Regions from separate parts of the Homo sapiens genome. Here region 1 is linked to region 2. Evidence: promoter capture Hi-C in human tissues and cell types (Jung and others, 2019). All regions are on one chromosome and are shown on one strand. Each heading gives the region's core, a stretch centred on a gene start or on the middle of the fragment in contact. The rest is flanking DNA. Distances are from core to core; before and after follow the strand shown. Region 1 overlaps KDM2B (lysine demethylase 2B). Region 2 holds the start of BCL7A (BAF chromatin remodeling complex subunit BCL7A).

Evidence for each region. The method cuts DNA at HindIII sites, captures the fragments that hold promoters and counts their contacts. A contact is called where the count stands out against the background at its distance.
Region 1: a contact is called between a fragment that was not itself captured here and the fragment with the promoter of BCL7A in region 2, in 1 of the 25 tissues and cell types used here (aorta).

The regions. Positions count from the first base shown.
Region 1 is chr12:121,541,074-121,547,813 of GRCh38, forward strand. The region is part of intron 6 of KDM2B (lysine demethylase 2B); the gene reads right to left. Among named protein-coding and RNA genes, the nearest start is that of KDM2B-DT, 36 kb to the right of the region's middle. RefSeq lists an enhancer at 5,899-6,604. The HindIII fragment of the contact is 8,624 bases long and covers 1-5,624 here.
Region 2 is chr12:122,016,893-122,023,980 of GRCh38, forward strand. BCL7A (BAF chromatin remodeling complex subunit BCL7A) reads left to right here and starts at 4,992. Exons shown (of 6, transcript NM_001024808.3): 1 at 4,992-5,291. The coding sequence starts at 5,200. RefSeq lists silencers at 4,871-4,950, 5,081-5,400, 5,551-5,710 and an enhancer at 5,545-6,360. The HindIII fragment of the contact is 14,578 bases long and covers 1-7,088 here.

The DNA.
Region 1 (6,740 bases), core at 63-2,562, 480 kb before region 2:
AATACAAAATTAGCCAGCCGTGGTGGCACATGCCTGTAATCCCAGCTACTCAGGAGGCTGAGGCAGGAGAATCGCTTGAACCCAGGAGGCGGAGGTTGGGGTGAGCAGAGCTCGCACCATTGCACTCCAGCCTGGGCAACAAGAGTGAAACTCCACTCAAAATAAATAAATAAATAAGCCAGGGGATAGTGGCATACACCTGTAGTGCCAGCTACTCCAGAAGGAGGGAGGAGGATGCCTTGGGCCCAGGACTCTGAGGCTGCAATGAACTGTGATTGTGCCACTGCACTGAAGCCTTGGCAACAGAGACAGCCCCTGTCTCAAAAAAAAAAAAAAAAAAAAAAGGAAGGACGGAGGGAAGGAGGGAGGGAGGGAGGGAGAGAGGGAGGGAAATTTTATTTATCAAGCAGAATCCTATAGATAAAAGAGAAAAAAAAAGAAAGCCTTGCTGGAGTGAGAGAGTAGCAGAAGCCCCAAAATGTACACAAAATGTGCCCCAAAATGTGCCCAGCCCAGTGCCTCTGTTTCCTCTTCTCTGTGTGTCAGGTTCTCACTCCCCCAACAATTTCCCCAGTTCCTCCTGCCACCCCCAGAAAGTACACAGGGAAGAGAACCCACTCAACTATCAATTATCTGAGGGCCAAACCTATGCTTTATGTGGGGTCCCCATTTTGCTGGGCTTTTGAGCTCCTTTACTGCTTGTCAGATCACAGCATATCTTCATTCCACCAAGAAACTTGATCTCTACAAACCTGTATTCTACAGGAGCAAAGGAGGGGAGGAGACTCACTAATCCACTTCTGGAATCTATCACAGAACCCAGCGGTGCTAAGTGAAAAAGGTGAGCCCATGTCATAGAACTAGGCAACTGTGGAGGCTTTGAAACATGTCTACAAATGCTTTGATACACCTCCCTTCGAGAGGCAGAGCTAAATTCTCCTCCCCTTGAGTATGAGCTGGACTTAGTGATTTACTTTTAATTAACAGAATATGGCAGGAGCAAACAATATGTGACTTTCAAAATTAGGTCATAAATGGCACTGTGGCTTCCTCCTTGGTGTTTCTTGAACCATTCACTATGGGGAACCCACTGCCATATCATGAGGACACTCAAGCAGACCTATGGAGAGCTATATGTGGCAAGGAACTGAGGCCTCCTGCCAACAGCCACGGGGATGCACCATCTTGGAAGCGGATCTTCCAGCCCATAGAGGCTTCAGCTGACTGCAGCCCAGGCCTACATCATTCCCCCCACTGCAACATTTCTCACTATGTTGGCCAGGCTGCTCTTGAACTCCTGGGCTCAAGCACTCCACCCCCCTTGGCCTCCCAAAGTGCTGTGATTACAGGCGTAAGCCACCACACATGGCCAAGGCCTAACACAAGCTTATAAGAGACCCTGAGCCAGAACCACCCAGCTCAGTTGTTCCCAGATTCCTGAATCACAGAAACTGTGAGATAATGTTTGATGTTTTAAGCTGCTAAAATTTTTCTTAAGCTCTGAAGTTTTAGAATAATTATACAGCAATAAGCAACTAATGCAGGAATACTCCCAAATAACAGTCACTATCTATTTGGTTATAAGGAATTTTCTAAGACAAATGGTTCTATACATCCAATGCATTCCTGCAGGGTACAGATGAAGAAAAAGGCCATTGGCAGAGATGCACCTTGTCTTCAGTATTCATTCAGCCCAATCCTTTTTCCTGCTTTATGTTTCTCCATGACCATTAAACCTCCTAAATTATTCCCTCATTGGCTTTCCTGTCTCTTTTTTCCCACCACAATGTATGCTCCACGAGAATGGGGACTTGGCTTTATGCACTGAAGTCCACCCACTACTACATAGAATCATGTCTTGCACATAAGATAACTAATAAATTAACATACTCCTTGCAAATCTTTTGTCTCTGTGAAGGTGCAACTACCCCCACTCCACTCCTATTACTCCTACCTGTTTTTAAGTATCTCAACTAAAATAAAAATCACTGAGGCCCGGCGCAGTGGGTCATGGGTCATGCCTGTAATCCCAGCACGTTGGGAGGCTGAGGCGGGTAGATCACTTGAGGTCAGGAGTTCAAGACCAACTTGGCCAACATGGCGAAACCCCTGTCTCTACTAAAAATACAAAAATTAGCTGGGTGTAATGGCGGGAGCCTGTAATCCCAGCTACTTGGGAGGCTGATGCAGGAGAATCGCTTGAACCCCAGAGGTGGAGGTTACAGTAAGCTGAGATCTCACCACTGCGCTCCAGCCTGGGCGACAGAGTGAAACTCTTTCTCAAAAAAGAAAAAAGAAAAGAAAAACACTGAGTCCTAAGCCAGCTGGGCATGGTGGCTCACACCCATATTTGTAACTATCTGGATCACTTGAGGCCAGGAGTTCAAGACCAGCCTGGGTAACACAGAGACATCCCCCTGCTGCCATCTCTACAAATTTAAAAAAAAATTTTTTAATTTTTAAAAAGATCAGCCGGGCCTGGTGGCTCATGCCTGTAATCCCAGCACTTTGGGAGGTCGAGGTGGGCAGATCACGAGGTCAGGAGATCGAAACCATCCTGGCCAACATGGTGAAACCCCATCTCTACTAAAAATACAAAAATTAGCTGGGCATGGTGGCGTGTGCCTGTAATCCCAGCTACTCAGGAGGCTGAGGGAATCACTTAACCAGGGAGTCAGAGGTTGCAGTGAGTCGAGATCATGCCACTGCATTCCAGCCTGGCGACAGAGTGAGACTCCGTCTAAAAAACAAAAAACAAAATTAGGCCAGGAGTAGTGGCACACCCCACCTGTAATCCCAGCACTTTGGGAGGCCAAGGTCGGTGGACCACTTGAGTCCAGGAGGTCAAGACCAGCCTGGGCCAACATGGCGAAACCCCATATCTAACAAAATTAGCCAGGCGTGGTGGTGTGTGCCTATGGTCCCAGCTGCTCGGGAGGCTGAGAAAGGGAGGATTGCTTGAGCCTGGGAGGAGGAAGTTGCAACGACCCACAATTGCGCCACTGCACTCCAGCCTGGGCAACAGAGAGAGACCCTGCCTCAAAAAAAAAAAAAAAAAAAAAAAGCCAGGTACACACCTATAGTCCTAGCTACTCAGGAGGCTGATGTAGGAGGATCACTCAGGAAGCTGAGGTAGGAGGAGTCCTGGGAGTTTAAGGCTGCAGTAAGCTAGGACTGTGCACTACACTGCAGCCTGGGCAACAAAGCAAGACTCTGTCTCCAAAAAATAAAAAACAAATAAACAAAAAGATTCCTGGCTGGGCATGGTGGCTCACACCTGTAATCCCTGCACTTTGGGAAGCCAAGGCAGGTGATCACCTGAGGTCAGGAGCTCAAGACCAGCTTGGCCAACATGGTGAAACCCCGTCTCTACTAAAAATATAAACATTAGCCGGGTGTGTTGGTGCACACCTGTAGTCCCAGCTGCTCGGGAGGCTGAGGCAGGAGAATCGCTTGATCCCGGGAGGCGGAGGTTGCAGTGAGCTGAGATCATACCACCGCACTCCAGCCTGGACAACACAGTGAGTCTCCGTCCCCCCCCAAAAAAAGAAAAAATCAGCCAGGTGTGGTGGCTCACGCCTGTAATCCCAGTACTTTGGGAGGCCAAGGCGGGCAGATCACCTGAGGTCAGGAGTTCGAGACCGGCCTGGCCAACATGGTGAAACCCTGTCTCTACTAAAAATACAAAAATTAGCTGGGTGTGGTGGTGGGTGCCTGTAATCCCAGCTACTTGGGAGGCTGAGGCAGGAGAATCGTTTGAACCTGGGAGGCGGAGGTTGCAGTGAGCCGAGATCGTGCCATTGCACTCCAGCCTGGGCAACAGAGTGAGACCCTCTCTAAAAAAATAAAAATTAAAAAATTTTTAAAAATTCCTAAGCCCATCACCAAAAGTCCTGGAGCCGGGTGGGGGAAGCAGTCGTGTGTCTGTGTCACTTCTCTCTTCCCTACTGCAGTCCTTCCCTCAGGTGTGCTGACAGCCATCTCTACCCTCCAGGGCCTCCAGCATGAAAGCTCCATGATTTCTAGAAACAATGTCATCTTAATTAAATTCTACAGAACTGTTCTACGATCCCGGAGGACTTCATCAGGGTGGGATTTTTTTTACCTTGCTTATTAACTGAAATCGGTATTCTTTTCAGCAAAACAAATGGACTATTTCCAAGATGACAATTTCCTTCCTAACGAGGTTCGAATCCTCTAACCAGTTCCCATGACCACTGACGGGGTCCGTAGCTCTATTCGCCACACAATTCGACCCCAAGACAAATGGTCCTAGAAAACTGGCAGTGTGTGCACAGTGACAGACAACGGTTTTAAAAAAAGAAAAAAAAATGAGTGTGTGAGCCTCACTTTTTTTTTTGGTAATTAGATAGGATCCTCAATATATTAATAGAGCTTACTATTTAAAGGAATCTTTCAATAAAGTGCAGAATATGCTGAGTATCTCAGGAAGGCAAGGTAGGCATTAATTATGAAACTGAAATCTGTGTCACCCAGCGCAGTCTCTTTTGCATTCCTAAATCTATGTCCAGCTGGACCCTCAGCCCCTCCGCTCTCCCTGCCCGTCACTCCCAATTCCACACCATGCCGTGGCCTCCTCATGTTCACGTGCCCCCACGCCATCCAATCCCCATAGCAACAAGAGGACCTGCAGAATGCAAACCTGAACACATTTCTCTCTGCTCAAAATCTTGGAGAGGATTCCAGCTGTTCTTACAGGAAATGCAGACCCTCTGTTCTGCCTGGCCCACCCCACACCCACCCTGCATTCACTGCCTCTGTTCCAGCCCCACTGGCCTTCCTTCCACAGGTCCCCTGCCCCTCCCCACCATCCCAAGTCGACTACACACAGCCAGGAAAGCCCTCCCAGTCTTCTTCACCTAAGTAACCCTGCTCAGCCTTCAGACTCCAGCTCAGAACACCTTCCCCGACCACCTTGACTGGGCGAATCTCCTCCCCTAGTACCAGCTCTGGGGCACTGTGGGCCTCATCGCAGCTGCAAGTTCCCATCTATTTCTGTGATTACTGGATTTACATCTGTCTCCCCCATACACTGTGTATGCTCCAGGAGAGCAGGAACCTCTTCTGGTTTCCTCCCCACTGTAAACCCCAGTACTCAGCACCAATCAAGGGCTCAAGACATAGGCGCTGAATGAATGAATGAATCAATCAACCAATCAATGAACCATCATCTCAATCAATCAATGAGCCATCATCTGCCTCTAACTAATAATCTCTGAGTCCCACAGCCTTTTTTCGGGGCCCTTTTCACTTCTCTCCCATCTCCTCTGTCTTTTTTTTTTGCCTTTTTTTTTTTTTTTTTTTTTGAGACGGAGTCTCGCTCTGTCACCCAGGCTGGAGTGCAGTGGCGCGATCTCGGCTCACTGCAAGCTCCACCTCCTGGGTTCACATCATTCTCCTGCCTCAGCCTCCCGAGTAGCTGGGACTACAGGCGCCCGCCACCATGCCCGGCTAATTTTTTTTTGGTTTTTTTTTTTTGTTTGTTTGTTTAGTAGAGACGGGGTTTCACCATGTTAGCCAGGATGGTCTCGATCTCCTGACCTCGTGATCTGCCCACCTCGGCCTCCCAAAGTGCTGGGATTACAGGTGTGAGCCTCCGCGCCCAGCCTCTTTGTCTTTTTTTTTTTTTGAGACATGCTCTCATTCTGTCACCCAGGCTAGAGTGCAGTGATGCCATCTCGGCTCACTGTAAGCTCCATCTCCCAGGTTCAAGCAAATCTTCTGCTTCCTGCAGCTGGGACTACAGGCACCCACCACCACACCTGGCTAATTTATTTTTTTAGTAGAGATGGGGTTTTACCATGTTGGCCAAGCTGGTGTCAAACTCCTGACCCCAGGTGATCTGCCCCCTCTTGGCCTCGCAAAGTGCTGGGATTACAGGTGTGACCCACCGCACCTGGCCTCCTCTGTCATTTGAAGCTCAGGAAGAATGTCCTCTCCAAGAAGGGGATGTCCCCTGATGACACCAGCCAAATGGGATTCCTCTAGTCCCTGCTCCCCTCCCAGGACTGGAGCCACACCTCAGGCCCCTACGCGAGGCACAGCACTTTCTCCAGAGGGTAGGGGCTTGTAGTCTTGTTCCTGTTTTTACTTCCCCATCCCAGGAGCTCTGTCAATTTTGCTGCGACTGAATCCAAACAGAATGGAATTGAAAACAAGCCCTGCTCCCTCCCCACCTCGAGCCCAGTCTCTGCCTTTGATGCAGCCCAGATCCAAGGCATGGATGGAGCTTCAGCTTGAAGGGGAGGAAAACCGCCTACAAAGTAATTAAAGAAAGAGAGAGAGAGAGAGCTTGAAAGCAAAACCTTGAGAAGCCCAAGGGCCAGCCTGCTGGCCTCCCTTACAAAGCCTGGCATGCAGTCCGCACTCACTATGCACTGAATTAAGGGCTGAGTGAATGAAAAGTTCACAGCCTTGAAGCTCCTGGGGGCATTCCTGGCAGCAGGGCTGAGCAGACAGATGCTAATGGATTCAGGCCGCCAGCGCCAACTCTTCTAGGAAGCCCAGAGCAATGGCCCTGCCTGGGACAGCCTGTGTCTCCTTCCCCTTCCTTTTTTTTTTTTTTTTTTTTTTGAGACAGAGTCTCGCTCTGTCGCCCAGGCTGGAGTGCAGTGGCTCAATCACTGCAACCTTCGCCTCCCAGGTTCAAGCAATTATCCTGCCTCAGCCTCCTGAGTAGCTGGAATTACAGGCGTGCACCACCACACCGGGTCAATTTT
Region 2 (7,088 bases), core at 3,742-6,241:
TTTTTTTTCTTTTCTTTGAGATGGAGTCTCGCTCTGTTACTCAGGCTGGAGTGCAGTGGTGTGATCTGGGCTCACTGAGACCTCCATCTCCCGAGTTCAAGTGATTCTCCTGCCTCAGCCTCCTGAGTAGCTGGGATTACAGGCACCTGCCACCACACCCGGGTAATTTTTGTATTTTTAGTAAAGATGGGGTTTCGCCATGTTGGCCAGGCTGGTCTTGAACTTCTCACCTCAGGTGATCTGCCTGCCCGCCTCAGTCTCCCAAAGTGCTAGGATTACAAGCGTGAGCCACTGTACCCGGCCTCTCTTTTACTCTTTTAACATAACTAGAATAATAGTAAACATTTGTAGAGAGCTTGACTTCCAGTTTCTAGTAAACAATTATTCAGACTAACTCTCGAAGTAACTAAAAATGCTAGGAAAAATACTTGAAAATATCCTAAAAGCCACTACATGCTGACTGTAAGAAAGAAGATAGTGAGAAATTAGGCCAAAATTGAAGGAAAAAAACTGAAATGTAATCTGGCAAGGAAGCCACTTTTACTTTTGCCAGCTTAGCATATTTGAACTTGACCATGAATGATTTTATGGGGCAAGAGGCCAGAAAATTAGGCTGGGTGCGGTGGCTCACGCCTGTAATCCCAGCACTTTGGAAGGCTGAGGCGGGCGGATCATGAGGTCAGGAGATCGAAACCATCCTGGCTAACATGGTGAAACCCTGTCTCTGCTAAAAATACAAAAAAAAAAAAATTAGCTGGGCGTGGTGGCGGGCGTCTATAGTCCCAGCTACTCAGGAGGTTGAGGCAAGAGAATGGTGTGAACCCAGAAGGCGGAGCTTGCAGTGAGCCGAGATTGTGCCACTGCACTCCAGCCTGGGCAACAGAGCGAGACTCCGTTTCAAAAAAAAAAAAAAAAAAAAAGGCTGGGCGCGGTGGCTCATGCCTGTAATCCCAGCACTTTGGGAGGCTGAGGTGGGCAGATCACGAGGTCGGGAGATCGAGACCATCCTGGCTAACACGGTGAAACCCCGTCTCTACTAAAAATACAAAAAATTAGCCAGGCGTGGTGGCGGGCGCCTGTAGTCCCAGCTACTTGGGAGGTTGAGGCAGGAAAATGGTGTGAACCCAGGAGGCGGAGCTTGCAGTGAGCTGAGATCACGTCACTGCACTCTAGCCTAGGTGACAGAGCAAGACTCCGTCTCAATCAAAAAAAGGCCAGAAAATTAAAATCCACGACTCACACTAAGCGGGAGTCCTTTCCCACGATAATCTGGGCCCTGTCGGACTCCACCAATGGTATGCTGGTAAATGTTCAACCACCAGCTCTGGCTGGGGCTGGGGAAGGAGGGTCCTGATGTATAAATCATTTGCCGATTTCCATGGTGTAAATACTCCCTCCACAGCTGATTCCAAACTCTCAGCATGAGGTCACTAAACACAGAGCTGGGAAGCAGAAGCCTGTAAACCATCTGCAGCACATCCCTGGCTCCACCCTCAGACTACAAGAAGTCAACCAGTCTTGCACAACTATGCGGCCAGGATTCGCATCACCTGAGTGGTCGGGGGCTCACAAACCCTGAACTAGGATTGAGGTCACCCCAGACTAGCAGTGACCTGAGGGGCCTGGCAGAAGCAAATATAAATTATTTCTAGGGGGAGGCCTCAAATTATCCCTATGAATAAATTTTAAAATAGTGTCCAGCATGGTCAAAGAGAACCAGGCATATAACAAGGAACTATGACACCATGAGCAAGACCTAGCAGAAACAGACTCTTGGAGACTTCAAATACTAGAATCATCAGACACAGGCTGTAAAACTACTGTGCTTTGTTGAAAGAAAGAAGTGTAAAAATACCTGCAGGAGACAGGAAACTACTAAAAGTGACATACTAGATTTACAAAGGACATTTGAAGAAAGCTTTATGGTTTTATTGGGGATCAAAATCACAAATACTTTCAGGGGCCAGACAGGTAACACAAATGAGTAAAGTGGCTATGAGTGCACTGGTGACCCAGATAACTCTGTCTGAAAGATACAGACAGAGCTCTCTGCTCTAGCCGATGGGTGCCATGTGGCACTGAGGGTCCAGTTTGCAGATCTGCTGGTTCTAGAGAAGCTGGGTATTTTTTTTTTTCCTTCCTTCCTTCCTCCCTCCCTCCTTCCCTCTTTTTCTTCCTTCTTCCTTCCCTCCCTCTCTCCTTCTCCTCATCCCTCTCTCTTTTCTTCTTTCTTTCTTTCGTTCTTTCTTTTCTCTCTCTCTCTCTCTCTCTCTCTTTCTTTGCTTCATGCAGTGGCATGATCTTGGCTCACTGCAGCCTCTACGTTCTGGGCTCAAGCCATCTTCCCCACCTCAGCCTCCTGAGCAGCTGGGGCTGCAGATGCGCACAACCACACCTGGCTATTTTTTGAATTTTTTGTAGAGATGGGGTTTCACCATGTTGCCCAGGCTGGTCTCAAACTCCTGGCCTCTAGCAGTCCACCCACCTCGGCCTCCCAAAGTGCTGGAATCACAGATGTGAGCCACCGCGCCCAGCCTAGATTTCTTTTTATTATGATCAAATACACATAAAATTGACCATTGTAACCATTTAAAAGTGTACAATTCAGCGTCATTAAGTACATTCACATTGTTCTGCAACCATCACCACTATCTCATTCCAGAACTTTCCTATCACTCCGAAAGGAAACCCCACATCCGTTAGCAGTCACTCCTGCTCTCCCTCCCCCTTGCCTCTGGCAACCACCAATCTGATATCTGTCTTTATGGATTCGCCTAGTTGTAGATATCTCCCGCAAATGGACTTACGCATATTTATCCTTTTGTGACTGGCTTCTTTCACTTAGCGTGTTTCAAGGTTCACCCATGTTGTAGCATGTATTCATTCCCTTTTATGGCTGAATAATATTCCATTGTGTGGATAGACACATTTATCTGTTCCTCAGTCACTATTTGAATTCTGACATAATATTTTCCTATTTTAAATTTTAAGATACATTTTTTTAAAGTTTCATGTGGCCCAAAGCACATACCTATTGATCTCACATATCTCTGTGAGATCTGTTTTATGACCTGCTGTTGCATATTTTCCCAGAAAATTCTCGGAACGATTCTCTGAAGTCCTTCTTTCTCTTTCTCTTTTTTTTCTTTTTCTTTCTCTCTTTCTTTTTTTGTTTTGTTTTGTTTTATTTTGTTTTGTTTTGTTTTTTTGAGATTCAGTTTTGCTCTGTTGCCCAGGCTGGAGTGCAATGGCATGATCATTGCACCTCTGCCTCCCAGGTTCAAGCATTTTCCTGCCTCAGCCTCCCGCGTAGCTCAGATTACAGGCCTGCACCACCACGCCCAGCTAATTTTTGTATTTTTAGTAGAGACAGGGTTTCTCCATGTTGGCCAGGCTGGTCTCGAACTCCTGACCTCGTGATCTGCCCACTTCGGCCTCCAAAGTGCTGGGATTACAGGCATGAACCACCGCGCCCGGCCTTTTTTTTTTTTCTGAGACAGGGTCTCACTCTGTCTCCCAGGCTGGAGTGCAGTGGCTGGATCTCTGCTCACTGCAACCTCCGTCTCCCAGGTTCAAGCGAGTCTCCTGCCTCAGACTCCCGAGTAGCTGCGATTACAGGAGCCCACCACCGCGCCCGGCTAATTTTTGTATTTTTAGTAGAGACGGGGTTTCACCCACCATGTTGGCCAGGCTGGTATCGAACTCTTAACCTCAAGTGATCCACCCGCCTCGGCCTCCCAAAGTGCTGGTATTACAGGCATGAGCCACCGCGCCCGGCCAGTATTTGTTCTTTTCTTCATTTTTCACGTCAGGAGACTGCGTTTCAGAATAGTAAAAACAAATGCCTAGGAAAAGGCCTGCGGTCTCTCCATTTCCACAGTAGCGTGTTCCCCAAAGACCAAACCCTCAGGGGAAACGTCTAGAATGAGTAACAACTTAAGGCTGCAACCTTAAACTTTCCCAGGACTCAGTTTCCCCAGCTGTGAAATGGCTGCTGTCGGGCTGTCATCTCCAGGCCCGGGGCGCTGACATTTGGGCCACTCTCGGTCTCCCTCTTCATTCTGGGCGCGCATTAGCTCTGGTCCGGCCGGTTCCGCTGCAGCTGAACAGCAAGATGCGGCACCCAGGTTACCCTGATCATCGCAGATTTCTCCCCGGGGCTCTGTTCTGAGGCCTCAAAAGTGCTCCTTGTAGATGGGACCAGGGGTCATTTGGGCAGTAGCAGCGCCTGGTCTCAGTCTGGTACTGAAGTCAGGAATGGCTTAAGGTGAAATCGTGGTCCTCTGGTGAAGCTCAGCGAAGACCCCCTCGCCTTGTTTATGACAAGAGAACTTCTGGGGGCGGGAGGAAGAGTCCCTGTTACGATGCTGATCATCATTGAGCTTTTGCTGAGCAGAAAACTCTTTAGTACTCAAGGTCGAGAGTCTCTGGTGGTCTGCCTGGCACCAGGCACCTTCCTACAACCCTAGTTTTCCAAAAGGACAAAGCCTGGGGCAGGCGACGTCCTAGCTCGCATTTGAACAGGGCCGCGGGCCAGCAGAGATGCGCGATGCCCAACTCTTTCCAAGAGCACCTCGCGTCCCGAACCGGTGCCTTCAACTCGGAGAAGTCAAGAGACCCGCAAGAAACTTGCACGACTGCACCCGCCGCCGCGCTCTGGGGGCTGGGCAGGGGCAGCTGGGCTGGCTCCCGGGGAACGCGACCCCCCCGCGCCCCGCAGACCGGCTGTCTCCCATGGACCCCTCGGCACCTGCAGCCTCCGAGGAAGGGTCAGCGCGCGTGTCCGCACGCCCGCCCCCACCGCGCGCCCAGAGCCGGGGGTCGCCGTGCGCCCTTCGCCACCTCCCCAGGAGGGCGTCCGGGGCGTCCCCTCTGGGGGCGCAGGAGGCCCGGGGGCGCTGCCCGGTGGCCGCGGCGCCCGGAGGCCGCACTGCCGGCGGCGGCGGCGGCGCGGCTCCCCCTGCTCTGTGCAGCTGCCGCCCGGCGCTTGCGCACTGGGCCAGGCGCGCGGCGGCCCCGGGCTTTGTGTGTGTGTGTATGTGTGTGTGTGTGTGTGTGTGTGTGTGAGTGTGTGCGTGTGAGAGTGCGAGTGTCTGTGCGCGAGTGAGTGAGCGGCGGGCGGGCGCGAGTGTGGCCGCCGCGGAGCGCGAGCAGGACCCGGCGGGCGCGCTCCCCAGCCTCCGTCTCCCCGCCGGAACCATGTCGGGCAGGTCGGTTCGAGCCGAGACGAGGAGCCGGGCCAAAGATGATATCAAGAGGGTCATGGCGGCGATCGAGAAAGTGCGCAAATGGTAAGCGGAGGCGCCCGCCGCCAGCCGCCTCCCCGGCCGCCCCGAGCCCGAGCGCGGCTCCAGAGAGCCGCGGGGCGCAGCGCCCCGGCCGCCTGCCCCGGCCCAGCCCCGCCGCGGGCCCCGGGACTTGGCGAGGGCGGGCGGACGGGCGGGCGGCGCGCGAGCCGGGTCACCTGCGCCAGGCTGGGGCCGCGGCCGCTGCCCAGGTGCGCTCGCGCCTGTAGCCCACCTGGCGCGGCGGCCCGGAGGCGGCGGGCGCCGGGGCCAGGCGGTTGGAGCGGCGGGGCGGCCCCCGCCGCGGCGCTCGGCTCCCGGGAGGGGGGCTCGGGGCCGGCCCCAGAAGCCATTTCGTTTTGTGCAAGTCACATGAAAGCGGCTTCCCGCGCGCCGGGGCCGCGATGCCGGCGGCGGCGGGGAGAGCGCGAGCTCCATTGTGCAGGCTCCGAGCGGGCCGCCGCCGCCGTCTCCTCCCCGCGCACCCCGGCCCGCGCCCCGCCGCCCTCCGCCAGCCCCGGCCCGCCCGGCCGCCCGCTCCCGCCTCCCGGGCCCGGCGCCCTCGAGTCTGCGGAGTTTGCAGAGCGCGAGCCGTTTAAATTTAGCGCTTTGGGCTGCCTGGAGCGAGGGCTCTCGGCGACCAGGAAAGATGGGGGCGAGCGCTGGGAGCCAGCGGCCAGGGGCGCGGGGCGCCCACGTCCCACCCCGCTCTGCGCGGCGCCCCGGGCGGGGGGCTCGGGCCAGCCGATGTTTTTGGCCAGAAGCCGTTCGTCCTGGGCCGCGGCTGCCTCTCCACACCGGGAGCTCGTGTTTGTTTTGCGGAGGGAGCTGTTGTTTTTGTTCTCTGCACCGGGGAGAGGGGGACTTGGTGGCGGCCGCGCGTGGTTTTCGGGATCACATTAGCGTCCGCCCGGCGTGGCCCGGTCGACATTAAGGGGATCGAACCTTTCCGCGGCCTCGTCGGGGTCTGCTCGGAATCGGCCCCTGGGCCAGGCCCGAGGCGCAAGCAGATCGCCAGGTTGGGTCAGAGTTGTTGAAAACTCCCCGCTGCCTGATTTCAACTTTATTATTTTTTTCCCACGCCTTCACTGGGGTCCCGGAGGGAGAGGAGCCGCCGCAACGCTGGCTCTGAGTGTCAGCGCCCGCGGGCTCGTCTCGACCCTTTATTTCGAGCCTGGAAGCTGGGCAGGCCCTGTGGCAGGGGATGTTTACGTTTGGGGGTGTCGTTTCTCGAGTAGCGCCTCGGTCTCTAAAAGCCACTGGGGGCGAGCCTCCGGTGTGGCGGTGTCACAAGTTAGCTGTCCTTTCTGAGTCAAACCCAACAAAAAAGGCAAGAGGAAAATCAATAAAGTCCACGTGCTCCCCGGCCTCCTATGGAAAGGGCTGGCTGCGATGGCCGGATGCCCGGCCGTGGGCTGGGTTTGGCTCCAGTGGGACAAAGAATTTTCAGAACCGTGAGAAGGGGAGGCTTTCCAAAGTTGAGATCCAAGTCGTCGGTGTCTCGGGAGCTCCCCTGGTACACAGGGTGCCCGGTGCCCGACTGGAGCCATTTAAAAATGGCAGAAACAGCTGCAGGCCAACACACACACGCTGGAAAACAACCCGCAGCCCCCTCTACTGTGGGATTCCCCGCGGGAAGCCCGGAGTTGCTCCCCTCCTTGCCTCAGCCCCTGTGCAAAGAAAGAACTGGTGTCTGTGCCTGGGTCCCTTCTGTCGCCGGCCTGGAGGTTGGGAAACAGCCGGCAAGCCGCCTTTCTCTGCTCGAGGAGGCGTGGTGGGGCCTCCTACTCCAGGTTCCCGGCT